Regions from separate parts of the Homo sapiens genome. Here all the other regions are linked to region 2. Evidence: promoter capture Hi-C in 16 types of primary human blood cells and fetal thymus (Javierre and others, 2016). All regions are on one chromosome and are shown on one strand. Each heading gives the region's core, a stretch centred on a gene start or on the middle of the fragment in contact. The rest is flanking DNA. Distances are from core to core; before and after follow the strand shown. Region 1 overlaps UBIAD1 (UbiA prenyltransferase domain containing 1). Region 2 holds the start of DRAXIN (dorsal inhibitory axon guidance protein). Region 3 has its middle 71 kb from the start of UBIAD1.

Region 1 (4,088 bases), core at 279-2,778, 410 kb before region 2:
TAATTTTGTATTTTTAGCAGAGACGGTGTTTCACCATGTTGTCCAGACTGGTCTCAAACTCCTGACCTCAGGTGATCCACCCACCTTGGCCTACCAAAGTGCTGGGATTACAGGCATGAGCCACTGCGCCTGGCCAACTTTGGACATCTTAATGTCTATTAAATCTCCTAACAAAGATGTCAAATGGGTAGTTCAAGTTCAGAGAAGCCTGGGCTAGAGATTACATATCTGGGAGTCATTGGTCTATAGATAAAGTTGTAGGACTGGGTGAGGTCATCAAGGGGGAGGGAGTGTTGGTAGAAAAGTCAGTCCTGGTCTGAGCCCTGGGACACTCCCACATTAGAGGTGGGGGAAGAAAAGGCACAGGTAAAGGGGATGTGAGCAAGCATCCAGAGGAGTAAGAGGAAAATCAAAAGGCTGTGGTGGCCTGGCAGCTAATTATAAAAAGTTCAGTGAAGGAAATCAATGAGGTGGTGTAATAGAAAGTACAAGGTGGTGGTGAAGGGAAGAGGCTGTCTTTGTGAAAGTGACGTTCAAACTAGGACTTGAAGACGGAAGGATAAGGAGCTGGCCACGGGGTGGAATTGGAGTCTGATTGTGATGCTGAGTCCTCCAGGGCTGAAGGACCACTAAGTGCAAATGTGGTGGGTGAGAGAGAGTGTGACATTGGCTAGGATCTACTGAAAGGTCTGTGTGAGCCAGAGGGGGCATGAGACACAGTTGGTGAGTTAGGCAGGGTCTCTGTCATGGCGATCTTAACCAGTCCTACTCCCCAACCTCCAGGGCTCAGTCCTTGGGCCTCTTTTCTCTATCTCCATGTACTCCCTTGGTGATGTAGCTCATGGCTTCAGATGCCATCTGTTAAGCTAGTGACTCTTAAACTCCAGACTCATATCCAACTTCTTGCTCAGCAACTTCTCCTAGAACTGTCTCATAAACATCTCAAGCTTAACATGTCTGAGACCAAATTCTGATCTTCTCCCCAAGGAAACCTGCTTCGCCCACAGCTTTTTCCCCATTTTGCTCAATGGCAGCTTCATCCTAGTTCTTCAGGCCAAAAGCTGTGGGCATCGTCCTTGACTCCCACGTCTCACATCCAGTTCATCAGCAAATTCTGTTGACTCTCCTTTCAAAATGCATGTAGGATCTGACCACTTCTTACCGTGTCCAGCCACCACTGTGATCATCTGTCCCTGGATTTTTGCGGCAGGCTCCCAACTGGTCTCTTTACCTCTGTTCTGGTCCCATTCAGGCTGTTCCCACTCAGCCACCAGAGTAATTCTGTTAAAATATAGGGCAGCCCTGTCAGTCCTGCTTAGAACTCTTCAGTGGCTCCCATCTTGCTCAGAGTAAAGGCCAGGGTCTTTACAGTGACTCCCTAGGGCCCTACATTCTTTGCCCACCTTTTGCCCTCCCCCCAGTTCTCTGACCCACCCTCCTCCTTTCTTCCTGCTCATCCTGGGCCAGCCACACTGCCCTTTCTAGTCCAGGAGCATGCACAACCCCTCCTGCCCCTCCCTCAGGTCCTTTGTAGATGCAGCTTCCTCTGTTTGAAATGCTTTTCCTGCTTCTAACCATGTGGTTCACTTTCTCACTTCCTTCACCTATTTGCCCAAATGTCAGCTGCTCAGTGAGGCCTTGCTTTCTACCTTGCTTAAAATTACACACCCACTCCGTGCCCCCACCTGATACTTCCCCTGCTGCTCTTCTCTGCATTAGTTTTCCTCATAGCACATGTTACCTTCTAATGTGCCATATAAAGTACTTAATTGGTTAATTATCTTCCCCCTTCGACTGCGAGCTCCCTCCCTGCAGTCAGGGATTTCTGTCTCTGGTATTAGCTGAACCCCTAGCACCCAGAGCACTGCCTGGCATGTAATATTACTTAGTAAATATCCAGTGAACAAATGGGAAGGCATTGAAATATACTGAGCAGAGTAGTGACATAATCTGGTTTAAGATTTTTTAAACATTGTCTTTTATTGACATATAATTGACACACAGTGAAATGCACAGGTTTTTAGTGTTGCAGCTTGATGAATTTTGATAAATGTATACAGTTGCATAACCCACACCCCGTCATCATCCAGAACACTTCCATCACCCCCAAAAGCTTCCCAGTGCTTCTTGCCTGTCAATCCCACACTCCCTGCCCCCATCCAGAGACAGGAAAAGAACCACTGTTCTGATTCCTCTCACAGAGATTAGTTTTGCCTGTCATATAAATGGAACCTTTCACTATGAACTATGTATGTATGTATGTATGTGTATTTATTTCAGTCTGAGCTCTCGTCTGGCTTCTTTTGCTCAGCGTGATGTTTTTGAGATTCATTGTTTTATTGCGTGTATCAGTAGTTCCTTTTTTTGCTGACTAGCATTCCATTGTAACATACCACAACTTCTTTTTATCCATTCTCCTTTTCAGGGACATTTGGATTGCTTCCATATTTTGGCTATTACGTCTGAACATTCATGTTCAAGTCTTTTTGTGGATATTTGTTTTCATTTTTCTTGGGTAAATGCCCAGGAGTAGAATTGCTGGGTCACAGGGCAGATGATGTTTAATTTTATGAGAAACTGCCAAACTGTTTTCTGAAGTGGTTGTACTTCTTTACACTCCCCCCAGCAAGTGTTCCAGTTGCTCTGCGTCTTGCCAACTTTTTGACTTAAGTCTTAACAGATTCATTCTGGCTGCCGTGTGGAGAACCGGCCCAGTATTTCACTGTGTAAGCTCATTCAGAAAATGGGGTTGGGAGAGGAGGAATGCCTAAAAGGAAATTCCCAGATGGGCCACGTCTCTGAATCAGGTAGAGCACATGAAGCCTTGGGCCATGTATCAAATGCTAGGAAACAGCTTTCTCCCCAAGGGCTCTACTGTTTTCTTGTGTCAGATAACCAGATCTTTTTCCTCCCCAGAGTGGGTTGCTCTTGGTTTTGGGGTGGGGACAGAGATCTCTGCTCAACCTTGCTTACATCACTTTTTTTTTTTTTTTTTTTCAAAAGACAGAGTTTAGCTCTTGTTGACCAGGCTGGAGTACAATGGTGCGACCTCTGCTCACTGCAACCTCTGCCTCCTGGTTCAAGCGATTCTCCTGCCTCAGCCTCCCGAGTAGCTGGGATTACAGGCGTGCACCACCATGCCCGGCTAATTTTTTTTTGTATTTTTAGTAGAGATGGGGTTTCTCCGTGTTGGTCAGGCTGGTCTTGACTTCCTGACCTCAGTTGATCCACCCGCTGTGGCCTCCCAAAGTGCTGGAATTACAGCGTGAGCCACTGTGCCTGGCCTTTTTTTTTCTTGAGACGGAGTTTTGCTCTTGTTGCCCAGGCTGGAGTGCAATGGCACGATCTCGGCTCACCACATCCTCTGCCTCCAGGGTTCAAGCGGTTCTTCTGCCTCAGCCTCCCGAGTAGCTGGGATTACAGACATGCGCCACTACACCCGGCTAATTTTTTGTATTTTTAGTGGAGATGGGGTTTCTCCATGTTGGTCAGGCTGGTCTCGAACCCCTGACCTCAGGTGATCCACCTGCTTCAGCCTCCCAAAGTGCTGGGATTACAGGCGTGAGCCACCATACCTGGCCGCTTACATTGCTTTTTGCCGAGTGATCTAAGGAGGTGTTCTTGGAGACTCCAGCCAAAGGTCAAGGCTGTAGTGCTGTTGCATTTTCTTTCACAGCCAGACCAGTGGCGTCACTTGGGGAGCTGAGAAAACAAGCACAGCAAGAGTGGGCAGCTGTAGAGGAACTGGCTAGGTCTGTGCTGGGAGTATTCCTGCCCAGCATCATCTTTGCGTGGGTGTAGTCCCTTAAATGTGTGAGATATTGGAAGAGACGTCAATTTACTAATTCTGAACTGGAGCTCGTGCTCTGCTTGAGGGAACTTCCTCCTGGAGGGCATGTCCTCATACAACCAAATTATTTATGAAAACATGGCTTGGTATAAAAATTATCCAAATAGAAGGAAAAAAAATATGGCTTGAGGGTGCAGAATTAGCTTGCTGAATGTTGAAGAGTGTCAGTGGCCATGCCTTAATGCCCTTCCCTGGAGATACTTTGTTCTGAAGAACTAAGGGTGTGTATTTAGCACCA
Region 2 (4,140 bases), core at 1,020-3,519:
CACAAAGTTAGCGGGCATGGTGGTGTGCACCTGTAATCCCAGCTACTCGGGAGGCTGAGGCAGGAGAATTGCTTGAACCCGGGAGGTGGAGGTTGCAGTGAGCTGAGATTGTGCCACTGCACTCCAGCCTGGGTGAGAGCAAGACTCCCTCTCAAAAAGAAAAACAAAAGGCGGGGGGAGGGGAGAAGCATGAATAATCCACCCTTTGTTTAGCACATCATCAGGAAATAACCATAAAAATGGGCAACCAGCAACCCTTGGTGCTGTGCTGTCTATGGAGTAGTCATTCTTTTTATTCCTCTACTGTCTTAATAAACTTTTTACTCTATGGACTCGCCCTGAATTATTTCTTGTGCGAGATCCAAGAACCCTCTCCTGAGGTCTGGGTCAGGACCCCTTTCCTGTAACAACATGGTCCTATCCCAGCTCCCTGTCTGATGTCACCTCACTCTGTTCCAGACTGACTCTTCTCCACCAAACACACCAAGCACACTCCCGCTCCAGGACCTTTGCAGTGGCTCTTCTGCTTGCAAGTCTTCTCCCCACAACCACGTGGCTCATTACCTCCTTTTCTTTGCCAAAAGAACTGCCCCAGCAAAGAGGCCTTTCCTAATAACTTTATGTAAAACAACACCTCGTCCCTTCATGCTTTGTCTGTAATGTGCTTTACTTTTCTTCATAGCACTAATCACCACCTGACATCATTTATATTTATTTGTTCACTTATCTTCTGTCTCCTTCACTAGAATCTGAGCTCCATGGGGGCAGGGATTCTTGTCCATGTTGTTTACTACTGTACCTCCGGTGCCGGCACATAGTAGGTGTTCAATAGGTATTTATGGGATGGATGACTCAAACCTTTCAGTGAATAAACAGTTCAGTGTTCTCATCAATCCATCCTGGTGCCCACCAAGCTAATAATATCACGGTAACAATGGCAGCTAATTTTACAGGAGCATTTCCTATGGGCCAGACCTTAGAAACGTTATCTCCTTACACAGGGCACTGCATTCACGCCTAGAACACTGAAATTTAGGTATAATCATGAGCTCAGAGGTCAGGCGACTTGCTCGAGGTCATAGGGGACGGCATCAGAAGAGGAACACAGACATTTAGCCTGACGGCAGAACTGTGTTCTAAAACCTCAAAGTCATAATTTGCCACACGCTGGAGAAAGAAAACAGTCGAAATGGAAGCCACCTGGCGAGCTCAGGGCGCCAGGTGGGAGCGCTGCTTCCCACATATGGGAGTCCGGCCCCATCGCTCTTTGATCTTTGCAGCGTCCGTGGCCCCACCGACCCCGTCGTGAGTTATGGGAGGCACGGGACCCATAACCCAGCATTCTCAGACTCCCAGGGTCGTCAGGACACGGCGCCCCGCGCGGTGATGGATGAGCCGGCCCCAGCGCTGGCTTTGTCCGGGTTGGGCCGGTCTGAGAAGCTTCAGGCCGGCTTTGGACGGGGCGTGGCGAGAGCCGCGCCGCGTGTGAGTGTGTGTGTGTGTGTGTTTGTGTGTGTGTGTATTGGGGCGGTTGTCTTTCTCCCTTCCCTACCGGGAAAGAGGGCACAGGTGCGCCGTCAGCGCCCCAGGTGAGCTGGTAGCACTTTGAAGACCCTTTGTACCCCTACATCCAGGAGCGACCTCTCGGAGAACCCCGCCTGCCCACTCTGCGCACTTTCTGCGGCTACAAAGGCCCCGCCGTTCCCCGTCCCGCCTCCCCCGCCCTGGGCATTTCTTCCGTCCCTTTTGACAGTCTAGGCGGAATAATCCTTTTGTGGCCCCGGGCCCCTGCCCTGACAGACGCGGCCGCAGCTGAGCGCGCAGCCTCGCTCCATTGTTGGGGTCCACCGAGGACCGCCCGCCGCGGCCCTTTGTCGCCCGCCCTGCGCGGGGCCGCTCCAGAGGCGCCACAACTGCCGGAGCCCCTCCCGTCCCACGCGCCCTGGGCCGCGCCGAGGCGGCTCTTACGCACCGGGAGGAGTGGGCCTGCCTCGCCCGGTGCCCGCACGGCTGCTGGGCTGCGCCCGCCTTTGTCTGCCTCCTTTGTCTGCCCCGCGCCCTCGCGGCGGCGGCGCCTAGGCCTCTGGGGAGCTGGCCCAGAACTCAGAGCGCAGCTGGCGAGGGCGCGCTGGCCGGGTGCGCGCCGGGCCCGGCCCCGGGGCTGCCCCTCGGCTGGGGGCAGTCGAGCCCGCCACCCGCCGCCCCTCCTCTGTCCCCTCCCCGCGCTCCCGCCCCCTTCCCTCCTGCCCGCCCACTCCCCCTTCCTTCCAGTCCCGCTCAGCCCGGGCACATCCTCCGGCTGCCCGCGCACCTCTCCACGCCGGCCCCGTTCCGCGGCTCGCCCTCGGCTGCGCTCGGCTCCCGCGGGCGCTCGGCCCCGAGCCCCTCCTCCCCCTACCCGCCGGCCGGACAGGTAAGGCACGGCCTCGGCCCGCCCCTGGCTCCGCCCCTCCCGCCCCACCTGGCTGCGAGCCCGGACAAAGGTGGGCTACCTGGCGCGCCCAGGGGCGGGGTGCGCGGGGTCCCGAGGCTGGAAGTGAGGATGCTGCCTCCTTCCCAGCCCTCGGACCCGTCTATCCGCCAGTCCTTCCGCCGCCTCCTCTCCTCGCCGCGTCTGCCCACGGACCCTGGCTCTGCTCCCGGGCTCCCCATCCGTCCACCTACCGCTGGACGCCCACTTTTCCACGCTCTGACACTCGGCCTCGCGCGCGCCCTCGCCGCCCTCTGGGGTCCCGGCTCGCACCTACTCTCCTCGGCACTAGCCTTCTCTCTCCCTGACCCAGTCTCCCTTTGTCTCTCTGTCTCTGAGTCTCCGGGTGGTCTCTCAGGCAGGGGGCCCCAGTCCGCCACCGTTGGAAGAAGTCTTCGAAGACTCCCTGAGCCCCGGGCAGAGCTGGCGGGCGTGCCCTCCAGCCCCTTTCGAGGCCGCCCAGGAGGCTGGGGTGTGTGGCCGGGGTCGCTGAGTGCGCCCGGAACCAGCACCGCCGGTGGCCCCGCGCCGTCCCATCTGTGCCCAGGAAGGTACTCAGCCTGGCTCCCCCGACGGCGCTGGTCTTTCGCCTGTGGTCTCCCGCTCTGTCCCTCCTGCTCCCCACCGCCGGCTTTTGGCTTTTCTCCGTCCGCTCGTCAAGGGTCTCAGCCGCCTTCGGGGCCGGGGTATGAGATGAGAGAGGGCTGGGGTTTCCCGCCAAGTCTTTCTTGCTTTCCTCAGCTGGGTGCTCCCTGGGCCATCCTCTCCGCCCGGTGGTCTCCCCTGCCCTATATGCTCCCTCCACGCTGCCCACCTCCCAGCCCAGTGACACACTGGTGTCTGGAACCGGTTCAGTACTATGCATCTGGAGTCGGGTACACTGGGGCTCTGGGAGTGATCTCGGACAAAGGAATGCACCTCTCTGAGCCTCAGTGTTCCTGTCACAAAACAGGGATGGTGCTAGTCCCTACCTATAGGGATGTGTGTGGAAATTGTGGGGTGCCGCTTGGTGCTGGTTCACACACCCTGTGGAGGAAGGGAGGGGAGGGGAGGGGAGTCTACAGACCTGGGATGGGGTGGGGACAGGGGGCTCCACAGAAATGGATCTCAAAGTCAAGGCTTAGAGACACTTCAGAGTAACCCCACCACCACAGCCTCTTCCCCCATCACACTTCCTGTCACCTTCACCTCCTCGTGCCCATACAGGCGTCCACACCCTTGCAAGCACTCTTCTCTTTCTCTCTCTCCTCCTCTTTGCTTGTCCTAAAATCAGCTAAAACAATCAGGGCCAATGGGTCACTTTTTTTCAAAATGAGATCAGTGTGGCTGAGCTGGTGTTGCCAACAACTGATCACCCATCAGAAGGCGTCCGGTGACTCACCCCCAATTCTGAACCTCAGTCTTGGCTTGATGCCTTTAATAGCGGCACCAGCTCACAGGCCACTTCCTTTCCTCTGAGGGGATTGTCTTGCTGGCTCCTGGACCTGCTGTGTGCTTGCCCAAGCCCCCTGACCACTGTCTAGGTGGTCATAACATGTGACACACCACTCCAGGAGTCTGGCAGTGACGTGGCCTGAGTGTCTTAATGAGGGCAACTTCAGAAGAGGGAAACCTCCCAGCTGGCAGGTTCCAGGCTCCCCTGGCTGAGTTCTTATTTCAGCCACAGCCAG
Region 3 (4,055 bases), core at 333-2,832, 350 kb before region 2:
GTAGTTGACCACTGCTTTATAAGCAGCTTTGTAAACGTATATATTTCAAGATGACACACACATACACACACACACCCCAGTCCCAGAGTGACACAATCATAGGGCCATTGCCAGAGCAATCATGAGTACTGAAAAAGTGAACACATGGCCTCTGCACACCAGGTCCCAGGCCGCAGCTGTGGCAGACATCCCTAATCAATCACAGGACTCCTTCGTGCTGAGCCCAGATGCAACCTCAGAATCCTGGAAAGCCCATATGGGGTTGATTTATAAAAGGAAGCATTGGCCATTTTTGCTGCAGGGGCAAGCTGTCCTGGGGGGCCTTTCCTGGGGGATAGGGAACAGCATTGGCCTAATCTCGGGTCTTGGAACCCTGTTCTTGAACCCTTGGCAGCATTCTCTGCCGGATTTATAAAGTGACTGCAGCTCTGGAACATGAGACAAAATTAGTGCAGCCTCAGAGAGCGCTGTCTCGAAATTGGCTTTCCAGCGAGCGGCTGGGTCTCCTACTCTCCCCACAGGTGGGGCTGTTTGAGTCCCTGGTAGGATTTGTTCCAGCTGCCAGACATGGATTAGGCTTTTGACTGTTGAACCCAGACAAGGGGACCAGCTGTTTAATGAGCTGGAGGAGGAAGTGGCTCCTGAAAGCAAGTCCTTTTCTTGGCTCAGGCATGCAGATCAGACATGGAACCAGGAAAGCTGCCTCGCCAAGCTTGGTAACCAGAGGGAAATGAATGATAGTGATCTGACAGGGAAGGATAAGGACAGGGGAGAAGAGGGGAGGTGGGGAGAGGAGCAGGAGGGGAGGAGCCAGGAGGGAAATCATGGACCAGCCTTTGCCTAGACCCCAGGGCTCTGCTGCAGGCTCCACTCCTCTTGGCTTCTTTTGCTATCAGAATCATTGTGCCTTGGATCCTGGAGATCCCGAGGCATGTAGATGATCTAGGGGTAGGCTAGATACAGATTTACATTGATACCTGGAGACAGGATAACCTGGGTTCAAATTCCTGTTCCTCATTGACTTGCCTCCGTTTCCTCATCTACAAAATGGGCTTCGTGTTTCCATGAGCAGGGGCGTAATGCTCTCAGACTTCCCCACCCTGTCACATTCTGCCATTCAGCTTTTGGTAGATGTTCAAACTGCCATTTGGACCTTTATCCATGGGATTTCAGTGTCTCTCTCTTGATTGGATCTGAACTTGGTGGAGGAGGTGGTGGGTTTATTCATTAGAACCCACTGAACATTAATGGCACCCACCCACGTGTTTGATGTGACGATTAAGCAGGTGAAGGTGTTTGTAGCTGCTTGTATCCTCCATGTCTAGATATATAGCTAATCCATACCTGTGCATATCTATACCTATCAATACACACTGGGGCCCAGCACAGATCGGTGCTTAGTTTGTTTGCTTTTTGAGACAGTGTCTTGCTCTGTTGCCCAGGCTGGAGTGCAGCGGCATGATCTTGGCTCACTGCAACCTCCACCTCCCAGGTTCAAGCAATTCTCATGCCTCAGCTTCCTGAGTAGCTGGGATTGCAGGTGCCTGACACCAGGCCTGGCTTGTTTTTTTTTTTTTTTTTTTTAGTAGAGACAGGGCTTCACCATGTTGCCAGGTTGGTCTCGAACTCCTGGCCTCAAGCAATCCGCCCGCCTCAGCCTCCCAAAGTGCTGGGATTACAGGTGTAAGCCACTGCACCTGGCCAGATTGGTGCTTAGTTTAATTTCAGCTGGCGAGTCCTTCCCGTCCAGCCTCCTCCTAATGTGCCATTGTGGGGAGAGGGCAGGGAAGGTCTGAGAGCAGCCTCATGCCTTCCTGGAAGAGTGGGCCTGTCCTGGGGCCTGGAAAGCAGGGATGTGGTGGCAGCTCCCCAGGCAGCTTCCTGCTCCTCAGCTGAGATTTGGAATGAGTGATCCCCTCCCTGCGCAAACCCAGGTAGTCCTCAGGGAGGCAGGTGAGGGGAAGGTTTCAACCCCGCTTCTGCCACCAACAGCAAGGGGTGACCTGGGGGAAGTGAGTAGGTTGGGCCTGGGCTTGGGGCTCCGAGGAGATGGGTGGCAGGGCACAGCCTCCTAGAAAGTCAGGGAAGCAGGGCTAGCTCCAGTCACTGTCCCAACTGTCACCCAGTTTATGGAGAACTGCTCTGTGCCAGGCCCAGTGCTGAATAAGACACGCACGGTCCTGGCTCTCAGGCAGTTGATATTAACATGCTATCCTTCATGAAAATCATGAGAGTGCTGTCGGCCACAGTTCCGCAAAGAAGCTGTTGGGGCCACGTGCATTTCAGATTTCAAAATTGTTTTCAGATTTTATTAATGTAATGTTCCCTATATTACAGACGACTCCAACATATTCATATTTCTGTAGCGAAATACATGTGAATAGTGGGATACAGACTGTTAAGTATCTCTAAGGTCAGTTCAGTTTAGGTTTTGCTGCCAAATGAGTTTTGAAAAGCTTTTTGGTCTCAGAGCTTTGGGGATGTTGGAATGGCAGAGGAGGGATGAGGGACTGACCACTTCCCGAGCTCTGAGAAGCACTGGGCCGAGCACTTTCACTGGCTGAATACATTAAACGCTCACAACAGCCCTATGAGGTCCGTTCTATTTTTGTCATTCTGACTGTACAGAAGAGGAGATCCAGGCACAGAGAGGTTAAGTAATTCACCGAAGTTCACACAGCTAGTAAGAGGCAGAGCTTGGATTCAAACCCCTCGGGGGCCAAAGCCTGCCAAGGTCACATAGTTTACAATCCAATGTGTGGTGGGCAGGTTGGGGAGGTGGAGGGAGCACTAGCACAAAGATGGTTACAGTGCAGTGGAAGAAGTGCCAGAACTGGGGGGTCCAGGTCCCTGAAGCCCAGAGGCAGGGGCCCAACTCAGCTTAACGGTTGGGGAAGATGCCCTAGGGGAGCTGGCAGCTTCCCCAACCCCGAGGGCACCAGCCAGGTAACAGCGGGGAAGGGAAAAGTGTTTCAAGTGAAGGAAATAGCATAAACAGCAAGAACAAAGGCCTAGAGGAGAGAGAGAGCAAAATGGGGGTGCAGCCTGGAATGGGAGGCCACGGGGAAGGAGGTGGGGGCTTGGAGGGTAAGCTGGGACCAGCCTCACAGGACCTGCGGGGCCACACTGTGTCCTCCTGACTCATCTACTCCCTGACCCCTCACACCACCCCGGGGAATCCCATGATGGGAAGAGGTCAGATCTTCCTGCCTTCTGTCCAGGAAGAGGGACTGAGGAACAGGACTGTTTCCCATGCATGAGATCCTGAGTCCACAACCCCAGCCGAGCTCCCCTTCAAAGGTGGTGGGCAGGGGAGCAGGGGACTCGGAGACACACAGGGAGGGAAGGAGTATTTTTTTTTCTTTCTTTTTGAGACAGAGTCTCACTCTGTCACCCAGGCTGGAGCACAGGGGCACGATCTTGCAACCTCTGCCTCCCGGGTTCAAGCGATTCTCATGCCTCATCCTCCCAAGTAGCTGGGATTACAGCATGCACCCCCACAACTGGCTCATTTTTGTACTATTAGTGGAGACAAGCTTTCGCCATGTTGGTCAGTCTGGTCTCGAACTCCTGACCTCAAGTGATCCACCCACCTTGGGCTCCCAAAATGTTAGGATGACAGGCGTGAGCCACTGCGCTTGGCCGGGAAGGATTCTTTATCTTTGACTAGGAGTGCTTGATGAAACACCGGGGCTGGGGAAGGGGTGGGAGGATGAGAAGTGGACCAGTCCTTGCAGTGTCAGGACTCCCTCCCTGGGGGGCCATCTCCTCCCTCCCTAACAGGCTGGGTGCTTGGCTCCAGCCACTGCCAGGCGAGCAAACCCTCTGAGTGCCGAGGATGCACAAGCTGCCTCTCTCCTGGAGACGAGCCCCTGCCTGACAGATGAAATCTTTATTATGGTGATTTTTATTTGGGGGCGTGTGAGTGTGTGCACATCTGGGGCCCAGGCGGCAGCCGAAATTCCCACAAACGTGGCTCATGAATATTCCACAGTGTTGCCTACCGCACTTTGCAGCCATCGATTATTTATATGTGAAATAACGAAAGCTTCATA

What was found. Contacts are between HindIII fragments. The CHiCAGO score rates a contact against its expected background, and 5 or more counts as called.
Region 1: a contact is called between a fragment that was not itself captured here and the fragment with the promoter of DRAXIN in region 2, in 1 of 17 cell types (endothelial precursors). The highest score is 5.7, in endothelial precursors.
Region 3: a contact is called between a fragment that was not itself captured here and the fragment with the promoter of DRAXIN in region 2, in 1 of 17 cell types (naive CD8 T cells). The highest score is 5.8, in naive CD8 T cells.

Annotation. Positions count from the first base shown.
Region 1 is chr1:11,279,581-11,283,668 of GRCh38, forward strand. All of the region lies in intron 1 of UBIAD1 (UbiA prenyltransferase domain containing 1), which reads left to right. Among named protein-coding and RNA genes, the nearest start is that of UBIAD1, 8.4 kb to the left of the region's middle. The HindIII fragment of the contact is 1,166 bases long and covers 946-2,111 here.
Region 2 is chr1:11,689,441-11,693,580 of GRCh38, forward strand. It overlaps DRAXIN (dorsal inhibitory axon guidance protein), which reads left to right and starts at 2,270. Exons shown (of 7, transcript NM_198545.4): 1 at 2,270-2,413. It also overlaps a transcript of MAD2L2 not described here. RefSeq lists enhancers at 568-1,077, 1,078-1,585. The HindIII fragment of the contact is 12,625 bases long and covers 1,439-4,140 here.
Region 3 is chr1:11,342,245-11,346,299 of GRCh38, forward strand. No RefSeq gene overlaps it. Among named protein-coding and RNA genes, the nearest start is that of UBIAD1, 71 kb to the left of the region's middle. RefSeq lists an enhancer at 1,361-1,861. The HindIII fragment of the contact is 1,744 bases long and covers 711-2,454 here.